Regions from separate parts of the Homo sapiens genome. Here regions 2, 3 and 4 are each linked to region 1. Evidence: promoter capture Hi-C in human tissues and cell types (Jung and others, 2019). All regions are on one chromosome and are shown on one strand. The core of a region is centred on a gene start or on the middle of the fragment in contact, and the rest is flanking DNA. Distances in the headings are between cores, read along the strand shown. Region 1 holds the start of IRX1 (iroquois homeobox 1). Region 2 has its middle 270 kb from the start of LINC02114. Region 3 has its middle 93 kb from the start of LINC02063. Region 4 has its middle 14 kb from the start of IRX2.

What was found. The method cuts DNA at HindIII sites, captures the fragments that hold promoters and counts their contacts. A contact is called where the count stands out against the background at its distance.
Region 2: a contact is called between a fragment that was not itself captured here and the fragment with the promoter of IRX1 in region 1, in 1 of the 25 tissues and cell types used here (lymphoblastoid cells).
Region 3: a fragment that was not itself captured here is called in contact with the fragment with the promoter of IRX1 in region 1 in 2 of the 25 tissues and cell types used here (dorsolateral prefrontal cortex and mesendoderm cells).
Region 4: a fragment that was not itself captured here is called in contact with the fragment with the promoter of IRX1 in region 1 in 1 of the 25 tissues and cell types used here (dorsolateral prefrontal cortex).

What each region holds. Positions count from the first base shown.
Region 1 is chr5:3,594,480-3,597,225 of GRCh38, forward strand. IRX1 (iroquois homeobox 1) reads left to right here and starts at 1,353. Exons shown (of 4, transcript NM_024337.4): 1 at 1,353-1,902. The coding sequence starts at 1,627. RefSeq lists a silencer at 1,056-1,350. The HindIII fragment of the contact is 23,247 bases long and covers 1-2,746 here.
Region 2 is chr5:4,505,608-4,508,307 of GRCh38, forward strand. No RefSeq gene overlaps it. Among named protein-coding and RNA genes, the nearest start is that of LINC02114, 270 kb to the right of the region's middle. The HindIII fragment of the contact is 3,147 bases long and covers 1-2,700 here.
Region 3 is chr5:4,226,860-4,229,599 of GRCh38, forward strand. No RefSeq gene overlaps it. Among named protein-coding and RNA genes, the nearest start is that of LINC02063, 93 kb to the left of the region's middle. The HindIII fragment of the contact is 4,440 bases long and covers 1-2,740 here.
Region 4 is chr5:2,736,127-2,738,826 of GRCh38, forward strand. It overlaps a transcript of IRX2 not described here. Among named protein-coding and RNA genes, the nearest start is that of IRX2, 14 kb to the right of the region's middle. The HindIII fragment of the contact is 5,452 bases long and covers 1-2,700 here.

The sequences.
Region 1 (2,746 bases), core at 103-2,602:
TCCCGTAGCCCCAACCCGGCCTAAAGCCGAGAAGACGCCAGAGTGCGCTGCTGAAATTCCCGCGGAGTCCGGTGTGCTGGAGAGCCGCAGCGGGGTGAACTCCCGGCCCCGTCTCTGCGTAGGAGGTGGTTCGCAAAGTGGCCCCGGGAGCCGGGACTGGTACCCGGTTCCCCACGGCACCGTCCGGAGCTCTCCAGCCACGAGGCGCAGAAGTGGCCTGCCAGCGCCTTCCCAGGCTCAGGGAGGCGAGGAGGCCCGTGCACTTGGCATCTTCTCCCGGGAGCCGCACGGCCAGGGCCGCGGCGAAACGGAGCCCATCTCAAGTGCGCCGCGCCTGGCCGCGTCCTGTAGCCCGACGAGGCTGAGGATGGAGAGGGGAGACGCAGGGAGAAGAGGGACGCGGGACTTGGACCCAAGAGGCCGCTCCGTTGCCGGTCTGGCGGCGGCGCCGACTCGGGTTCGCGCGTTCCACACAAGTTTCCTGTCTGCCTCTGCACACCTGGTGGACAAACCGGGCGTCCAGGCCACACCGTCTTCCCCCTTCGCGGGGGCGCGGGGGATGTTTCCCTCCGGCTGCCAGGGGGCTTTCTGGGTGAAGAGAAAGCCCCTCCCCCCGCGTCTCCCCCACCCCTCCCTCCGAGAACCCGCGGCGCCGACTGCGCCTGCTTCCCCCGAGCTGGCGACTTCTCCGCGGGATTTGCCCTCGCTCAAAGTTTGCACAATTGAAAGAGCCCGCAGAGCTCGGCCGCTCCCCGCTTCCCCAAGGGCGGCGAGGCCGGTCATTGGCAGACGATCGGTTACTACCCAGTAGGGGCCCACGGGAACCCGCATCTGGAGTCGGGGGTGTCACGCCACGCCGGTTCAGTGGCTCGCGGAGAGCGTCCGGGTGCACTTCTGCCAAAGATGTCCCCTGGAGGCCCCGGCCGCGCGGGACTCGGGGGAGAGGCCGCTCCCCCCTCGCTGTCACCAGCGTCCAGGCCGCCGGCCCCTTCCCCGCTGCCCAAACAGTAGAAAAGCAGGCGCCAAGTTGTTTTTGTTAAAAAGGGGACACACCTCGGCCGCGAAACTGCAAACCCGGTGTCAGACAGCTGTAAACCCGTGTCGACAGGTTGTCAGACAGCTGCGGGGGCTGGTCGGGAAGGAGCCCACGGCCTCCGGGCCCACACCCCGCCGCCCCGACGCGCGCGCCCACCGCGAGAGTAGCTGGCCGGGCCGGCACGGGGCACCACGTGCTCGCGGGAGGGGCGGGAGCGGCCGGCGAGGGCGGGCGGGAGGCAGGGAGGGGGCGGGAGGGGAGCCAGGGGCGGGGCCTGCGCTCAAGGGGATGCCAATCAAAGCATCAACTTCAAATTGTGTCTGAAAGCCCCGCCGCCGAGCGGAGGGCGGCCGCCGCAGTCGGCGCGCGATTGCGGATCCGGGCGCAGCCGGGAGCCGGGCGCCTGCGAGCACCGGGCAGAGGAGCCGCGACCGGCCTCCATCTCCCGGCCCGCCCGAGCGCGCCCGGCCGGCCGCCCGCTCCTCCCTAGACCCCTCGCGGCGCCCCCTGCAACCCCCTCCGGCCGGCCTCCGCCTCCCTCCCCGCGCCTTTAATACTCGCCCGCTGCGGCGGTCGCCGAGTCCGCGGACATGTCCTTCCCGCAGCTGGGCTACCCGCAGTACCTGAGCGCCGCGGGGCCGGGCGCCTACGGCGGCGAGCGCCCGGGGGTGCTGGCCGCGGCCGCTGCGGCGGCTGCCGCCGCCTCGTCGGGCCGACCGGGGGCCGCGGAGCTGGGCGGCGGGGCAGGCGCGGCTGCAGTCACCTCGGTGCTGGGCATGTACGCGGCGGCGGGGCCGTACGCGGGCGCGCCCAACTACAGCGCCTTCCTGCCCTACGCCGCGGATCTCAGCCTCTTCTCGCAGATGGTGAGTGCGCCCGGCCTCCCCCGCTTCTCCTCTGTCTCACCCGCGCCAGGGCAAGGGTGGCGGGTCGCCCGGGAGGGAGAGACTACGGGTGGACCTGGTCCGGAAGAGGAACTAGAAAGGTCCGGGGGCAGGTTCCCGGTGGCCGAGGCCGCGGCCCCCGGGGACGCAAGAGGGCTGGGAGGCCGGGCGGGTGACGGCTGGGCCATCTCGGCCTGGGAAAGCGGAAGGCCCGGGCCAGGGAGCGGGTAGCGAGTGAATTCAGAGAGGCCGCAGAAGCAGGCCCGTGGAGCGGTGCCCGCGCTGGAGGTCGGGGGCAAACTCGCCTGGCTCGGCCAGGGCGCCCGGGCAGGCCCACGGGGTTCCTGCAGGTCGGCCCGGCGTAGCGTAGCAGGACTTCCCTTCCTGGCCGCGGGTTCCACTCGCGCGGCCTCTTTAGTTTTCGAACCGAGTCTGGAAAACTTGGTTTTCTCCCTCTTTAGCAGCTCCGAGATAGTTGTATCCGAGTTTGCCAGACAGACCCCTTCTAAGCCTGGTAGAGTCAATCAAAATAATCTTAACAATAGAGGTCCAAAGGGATGGAGAGGTCTCTCCACGGCGTGAGTGCGAATTTGAGATTAAACAAAAATTAAGTTGCAGTAATGTGCTGGTGTCTGAAACGGTGTTTGATTTTACTTTTGTAAGTTGCCCAAGTTTTCATTTCATTTGCACAGAAAGAAAAGCACTTTTCTTCCTGCGTTACATAATGGAGGATTAAAGAAAACAGTGTCCCTTGGCTTAAAACAAATGGTGTCCTCTTAGTCTCCCGTCCCAGTGGGCGTTAGATGTCGGGGCAGGCGGCTGCACA
Region 2 (2,700 bases), core at 101-2,600, 910 kb after region 1:
TTAAGAAAGCTTGTATTTCTGTTGTTGTTGTAGTGATTATTTATAATTGTAACCTTATATGGTACCTTTCATCCTTTCATTACTTAGGCAGTTTCTAATAGTCCCCCTCTTAAAGCAGTGATAAAGTTACCATTTTCCTTTCTCTTCATTGTCCTCTATCAGCATCAATTTTAGTCAATAATGTTACCTATTTCGGCATTATCATTATTGCGTTAAATATCTTTATGATATTCTTAAAGTGTATACTATGCATCACATTATATCATTTTCTCTTTTCTTGCAATCTTTGCTAGTAGCCTCCTTGTGAAACCTCTCATTCTGTTCAGCCTCCCTGATTAGTGATTGTAGTCTTTGCTTCATACTTTCTAGGTTGACCGATGATTTTTGAAGATATAATTTCCATAATCATTTCTTGATTGGCTGAAATTTCTTATCTGGTAGTTTATGTAAGCATTCAGAAAAAAAAGTCTTAGTTTTTGTGTGTGAAACACAATAATTTTGTCAAGATAGATCTCAATTTTTAGGTCAATTTTTCCTGGCCTCAAAAGGTGCACTTTGAAAACATAATTTTAAATCTCATTTCACAAAAAATGTTTTTTTAGATGGCAGATATACAGGAGGTCATCTCTTTCTCTGTGGCAGAATAAGGGAAAGACTTCAGATTTTGTAAAGTCTGGGAAGTCCCTTCTTCCAGCAAGGAAAATTTGCTTTCGTTTCATTGTTTTATCTTGTAATTTTGGAGACTTCAGTTATGGATATATTGGATCTCCATATAAAATTTACAATTGGCTATTGCTTTCAACAAAAATGTCTGCAGGGATTTGGTTAGAATTGTTTCAAATTTGTAATTTGGGGAAATTGACATCTTTACAAAATTCAGATTTCCAATTCATAAATACTCTGTTTTTCATTTAGTCTTTCTTTGACTTTTCTGTCCAAAGTTTATAATTTTCATCATACAAATCTTAAACAAATTTTCTTAGATCTAGACATAAATATTTCAAGTTTTTTTGGTGTTATTACAAGTTGTATATGTTTTAAATTACTATCTAATTGTGGATTGCTAATGTACAAAAATACAATTAATTTTTGTATATTGACTTTTGAAGCAGCAATATTGTTGAACTCATGTATTATATCAGGGAGTGCTTTTTTGTGCATGCTTTGAACATCTGACACCAATAACCATATAGTCTACGTACAGACAATTTTCTTTCTTTCTTTCAATATTCTATAATTCTCATGGTTTTTCTTTTCTAGTTTCATTGTACTAGAGTTCCTTCACTATGATATTGTGGTAAGCAGAGTAATGCTCCAACCCGCAGAAAGAAAAAGATGTTCACACCCTCATCCCCAGAACTTGTAAATATGTGAGTGGTAAAAGTGACTTTGCTGGAGTGTTTAGGAATATGGACAATAGGATTATCCTCGAGACAATAAGATTATCCTGAATTATCCACATGGACCTAATTTAATCACATGAGTTCTTACAAATGAGGAGTCCTTTCAGGTAGGATGACACAAGTGAGAAGGATGAACAAAGAGAAGAGATCCAGCAGGTGAGGGGGAGTTGGCTCACCATGGATAGCTTTGAGCATGGAGAAAGAAGGATCGGAACCCCTGAGTGTGGGAATGGCCCACCGTGCACAGCCAGTGAGAAAACGGGAGCTGGCTCCTGACCTGAATTCTGCCAAGTAATGGAATGAGCAACAAATGCATTATCTCCTATGACTTTCAGTGAGAAACACAGCCTGGTGACACTTCGATTGCAGCTCAGTAAGAAGTATGTCAAGCTTCAGACCCACAGACATATAAAATAATAAATATAGGTTGTTTCAAGCCACTAAGTTTGTGGTAATTTTTTTGCAGTAGCAATAGAAAATTAATTCAGATATTGAATAGGAGTGGTGGGAGAGAACATCTTTGCTTTATTCTCAATCTTAGGGGTCTTTCTGCATTAATATGCAGTCTTTCACCATTAATATGGTATTAACTGTGTTTTTTTTTTTTTTTTTGGAGGTGACCCTTGTGAGGTCAAGTTAGTGTTCTTTTCCAGATAGTTTCCTGAGTTTTTATCAAGAATGACTGGATTTTGTCCATTTTTCTCTGCCTCCATGGAAGTGATTATATAGGTGTTCTCCTCTAACATCTTGACATACAAAATTACATTGGTTGATTTACAAATGTTGAAAATATGACTCATACTCAATTATGACATTATCATTTTTATCTATTGCTTGATTTTATTTGCTTTTATTATGTTAAATATTTTTGTGACCATATTTATGAGGGTTATTAGACTATATTTTTCTTTTCTTGTAATACTTTCATTTAGTTTTAATACAAGTATAATATTGGACTCATAAAATAACTTGAGAAGTTTTCTCTATCTTGTATTTTCTGGAAGAGGTTCTATAGAATTGATATTATGTCTCCATGAAATGTTTGATAGAATTTTCCAGTAAAGATATGTGGGTCCAGAGTTTTATTTGTGATGATATTTTAAAATAAGTTTAATTTCTTTAATAGAATTGTACTATTCTGGGAATTTATTTCTTCTTGAATGAGCTTTGCTAGTTTGCATCATTCACAAAATTTATGCCATCACTTCTTTTGCTTATCTTTACAAACATTTTCTTATTATCGTTTTTATGTCTGCAGAATCTCTAGTGATGTCACTTCTCACACTTCTAATATTAA
Region 3 (2,740 bases), core at 104-2,603, 630 kb after region 1:
GGGGAGAGGAAAGAGTCATCTTCCTAAGAAAGACATTCCAGGTAAACAAAACACCCTAGGTCCATTCGTGGACTTCCACCCAGTGGAGTAGGTGGGCAGAGGTGGCGGCTCTCAGTGCTGGAGCCCGTTGCTCATTCTATAGAAACCCTTCGCCTCCCAGGAATGAAGGTCTAGAGGTTGTGCAGAGTTAATATGCAGAAAACTGTAAGGAATCAGAACTTTACAGCATCAAAGGACTTTGAGATCACAAACAGCCTCCAGAAATACACTTTATTTTTGTTTTCTGTTCTGTATTTTTATATCAAATGTCAGATGATTGATGAAATAACATTTAATCACATGCACATTGGAGACACGGCTAAAGCTTTCAGTCTTGCCTCCAGCTGAGACCTGCCTGCCTCTGAGTCCTGATTTCAGTAACCTCCAGCTCAGTGTCTTTCCCTGAACATCACTGTCTCCTACTCTAGAAAGAGTGAGAAAAAGTGGTAATGGGACCTTCTCCCCATGCAGATTATAGCCTTTAAGAACACAGACACTTATAAAATTTGAGCAGAAAATGCATTTCTTCATCTGTCTTGGCACAAGGACAACCACCGCTGGTCTCAGGTTATGTACGTTTCTACATGCAGACTCAGTCTCTGAGCTTAGGTAGAAACCTAGCGGAACTCAGTAAAAACTCAAGAATACCCTTAATGTATTTCTCACCAGCAACTACGTCTATTTGTCTTTCATGTTCCTATTTCACCAAGCCATGAGGGATCTGCCCCCATCCCCCAGAGTCTCCAGCCAGGCCCCACCACCAACACTGGGGATTACATCTCAGCATGAGATTTGGAGGGACATCCAAACTATATCAGGAAGTAAAGTCATTTGCTGAAGAGCATATAGCTCAGAAGTCCTCCTAGCTTAAAATTCAAGCCCTTAACCCCAGGTTACCCCACTTTATAGAGGAGCTGATCTCTGATGCACAGCTAAAATGCATGTCCCCTCGGACGAGACATTTGACTAAAAAGTCTTTATGACTACAGTGCCTGGCCCGGGGGCTTGTGTCCTAGAAATAACAAACCAGTGAGTGAGAACCATCCTGGATGCCTGGTTGCGTATGAACCCATGGGCTCTCTGTGGTTTCCGGTCTTCCTGGGAGACAGGTGAATAACGACCACCTGCATCCCTTTCCACAGAGACAGGGGCAGAATCTGAGCTGGAGTTCCCCAGTCTGGAGTCCCGTGCTCCTGACTTCAGAACTCACTCTAGGCTGGGCGCGGTGGCTCACGCCTGTAATCCCAGCACTTTGGGAGGCCAAGGCTGGTGGATCACAAGGTCAGGAGATCGAGACCATCCTGGCTAACACAGTGAAACCCCGTCTCTACTAAAAATACAAAAAAAATAGCCAGGCGTGGTGGCGGGCGCCTGTAGTCCCAGCTACTCAGGAGGCTGAGGCAGGAGAATGGCGTGAACCTGGGAGGTGGAGCTTGCAGTGAGCCAAGTTTGCGCCACTGCACTCCAGCCTGGGTGACGGAGACTCCATCTCAAAAAAAAAAAAAAAAAAAGAACTCACTCTAATGCTCCAAGCAGCATGTAACTCTTGACCTTTCACGGTTTGGGGAGGATAAGCTCATGACAGAGGGCACTGATCATGGTGTCCAGCAAGTGGTGAGAATTCAGCAGATGTCAGACACTATTCCTCACCACTAACAAGATCATGACGGCATGTGTGTGCTGAAGACTCTCTCTGCAGCCACCACACTTAAAGAAAATTCATTGAGAGAGTACCAACATGGAGCATATTTTAAACATCTAAAATATTAAGATAATGTACGTATTAAACTCAAATTAATGGTATGCAAAGCACTTTGATATCACTTTCAAATAAAGAATTAAAAGCATGGTACCAACATTACCAGAAGTCTAAATCCCCTGGCCTCCTAAGCCAAATACACGTGCCTAAGTTAGTTATCTCTTGGAAATGAGCTCAATGGAGTGGCTCTGCTATGGTCAAACTGTGCGGAACAGAATGACTGGCATTAAGTGCACCTTCAGAAGAAGTGGGCCGTTACTGCATTCTCACATGACCTAGTTAGTCCTGGTGAAAAGCCACTTATGAGGCAAAGCGAGTGGACATGAAGTGAGGATCTGCAATGGTTGTTGTAACAGAAGGGAGCAGGACAGAGTCCGGAAAGCTAGAAACACTGTCACCCAGGACGTGTGCCCCCTGAATCAGCTGTGCCCTGGGACAGGAAGAAGCAGGCTGCACAGGGTCATCAGAAAAGCTCTCGGCACAAGGCCAGACATGGGTGGCAGGGAACCTGGGTTCCTTGAGTGGACAAGACTGTGAAAGGGGATGGGTGGCCACACACCAGGACCAGCCATGGTCACAGCAGCAGCCTCTTGTCCTTTCTCAAGGCTACAATTCCCAGGTCACTTCTCTCTGGATGCTGTCATCAGGAACAGGAACCTGGGAGCCCGGGTGGCTGGGATGGGCATGTAGGGACCAAAGAGGAGAAAATCAACCATTGGCACCTCCTACTCAGTGACTCCTGGTACAGAGGGCGCAGGACACGGAAGGAAGTGCTCTCCACTGGCCTGTCCCTGGACACACTCAGGTCCCTCTGTTGGTGAAGATGCCTTGCTAGAGGGCAGACTCATCTGCATTCCTTAGGGGAGGTGACAATGTGATCCCACTTGTCCACTTGGGAGGTCTGTTTCCACTGCTTCCTCGCACCCCCCGCCAACCCTGCCC
Region 4 (2,700 bases), core at 131-2,630, 860 kb before region 1:
TCTTCCCCCAAGCCCCTGTGTCACACCTTGGCATTTACTCTTCCCAACAGCCCTCGGGTAGGTGATGTGTGCAGGTGGGAGGATGAGGTTCAGCAGGGATGCCTGCAGCCTTGCCCTCCACTGGGCCCTGGTGAAGCACTCCAGCCCTGAGTTCACACCTGGGATCTCCCAAATGTATGCCCTTCCCACTACCCTGGCCCCTTCTGATGCGATTTCTGAGACCTCTTTCATCTCAGGGATTAAATTTTTAGAATTAAAACAATTCAGCTTCATAATGAAACTTTTTAATGAAAACTTTTTATGGATAAGTTATAGTGTGCATTGTGTCTTTAAATTTTAATAGAAAGCTTTGAATATGCTAGAAGAAAAATTTTTTTGGAAAATCACAAATAATTTAGTTATTTTTATTTCTTACATTTGATTTGCTATCAATTTTTGATGAAGATATATTTAAATGTATGCTTTGAGAAGGATCACTTTTTAATTTTTGAACCACTATTGTCAAAACACAAATTATGTGAAAATCTTGATTGCTACAGGATATGGAGTGATTCTATTTTTTTAAAGGCAAAATATTTCATAGGATAAATATGTACTTTATGAATTATTCTGTCTGTATTTTTTTGCAAATCCTAACATTGCTACCCCCTCAGAATAGAATGCCAGACGTACATAAGAATCATTAAATCTGGTCCTCTTTTGATATGTTGATGACTTCCATGCAAATCATGCTTTGCACATATTTTGTGATTTCTCTCATTTGAAAACGTATTTTCCAAGGCAGGAGGATAAGCATGTTGTGTATAAGCACATTGTATCTAGCAGCTGATTTACAAGTGGTCAGTGTTCAGACACACAGGGCCTCATTTGTCCTCTTGTCCTGGTCCCCACTGCGGCCATCTCCGGTGGATAGATGGACAGCATGCGGTGGTGGTCTGTGGAAGTGGGCCGACCACAGCCATGCCAGAACCAGCCTGACCCATGGCCTGCTCATGCCTGTGGAACCCCAAAACCTGACACAGAAGTAGCTCCGTTCATTCACGAGAGGCCTCAGGTGTGGCTCCTGGTCACTTTAACATCCACGTGGGTAGCAAGTGACAAGTAAATACAGAAAAATACCTGCATTATTGAGCAGCCATTCTCCAGCTGAGTTAGAAGAATCTTCCAGGCAGACGGATCAGTCTGTTCAGGTCAGCTGAGAAAGGAAAGAGCTCAGTGTTCAGAGGTTCAGAGAAGTGACAGGACTGGCGAGGACAGAGGGCGGAGACAGGCAGACCCTGGACATGTTTCTGTGCCCGCTGGCCTTCCTTGGCTTCATCTAACTAACAAGAAGCCCTCTGCAGAGCCTGCTACGTGGGGCCCGGTGGCACATGGAAGAGATGGGCTTTCAGGGGCAGTCATTTGGCCCACTCAGATGAGCCCCACTAGCAGGTCTCGAGTGCTGTCCTCTCCACCAAGATCACAGGAGTCGATGGTGAGCACCCACTTCCCCAGCCCCATCTCCTGCCTGTCCTGTAGGGCAACTGTCCAAAGACAGGGCTGTGGACCATGCCTGGGTGTTCACCCATCGTACTCCATCTCATGTCTACCCGTAGTAGTCATTACCTGCCCTCAAACATTCCGCCTGAGGCTGCCAGTTCTTGTAGGAAGTGGCCCCGGTGCCAGGCCAACAGCTTTCCTAGGCTTCAGAACACCGAGATGATTTCGGGCCATCACTGATCTTCACCCACCAGAGAAGTTTTTCACCAGGGGCTTTTCCTGACGTCAAAGTAACAGCCAGGTTAAGGGAACCCCTGGCCTGGGGGTGTCCCCCTGCCCACCCCCTGCAGCCCACAGCCCACCTGTCCTGCCTGCTGACAGGTCTCCTCCCACTCCTCCCGGCCTTGTTTGCACTGGAAAGTTGGGGTGCATCGGCTGTGCACCTGAATGTGTTATTTGCTTCTGCTTAAAGATCATAAAGTCAGTAAATTGTTTAAAATATAACTCATTTGAGGGTCTAGCTCCTGCAAAGTCTGTTTGTCTTCTTTCAAAGCATGCCTTAACTCAGCCCCTTCCTTTATAAAACAGTCCAGCTCCATAGAAATTTTAAACAAACTGTCTCTCTCCTCTGGGCTTGGACTCAGCCCCCTCCCGGTCACAGGCCTGCCTGGAAGAAGCAGGTTGGGCCCTCTCAGCCGCTTCTGTTTATATCTGGGCCCATTATCATGAAGGGCACTTTTATTTGAGGAGTTGAGTATTACATTAGCATTATAAAACAAATTGTTTTTCCATTGCTTGAGAGCCAGGGAGAATAAACCTGGACGGGCCATGGCCTCCTATTTAAATAAACTAACGTCATCCTGGGTACCAAGGAGCCTGATTCGCCCCCCTGTTCCCCGCTTGGGCCGAGTTGTCCTCCCGGCCGCCTCTTTGGTCCCCTGGCCTCTGGGGCTCAGTGGGCTGTTCCCAGGGAAGCCTTCACCCTCTCTCCACCAGGGCTGTACAGTGACCCCGAGTCCAATGGCAGAAAGGATGGGGCTCATCACAGGGCCCAGGACCCCAAAGGTTACAAAGCACCCACCCCTCCCCATCTGACCCTCACCACCCCCAGCCGCACGCTTGGGCCTCCCTCCTCCTGTGCCTCCGGGACCGTCTCCCCACCTGCGGGAGGCCAGGTGTGTGGCTCCAGAGACCCTCCACCTGAACTACCCGCTCCCAGAG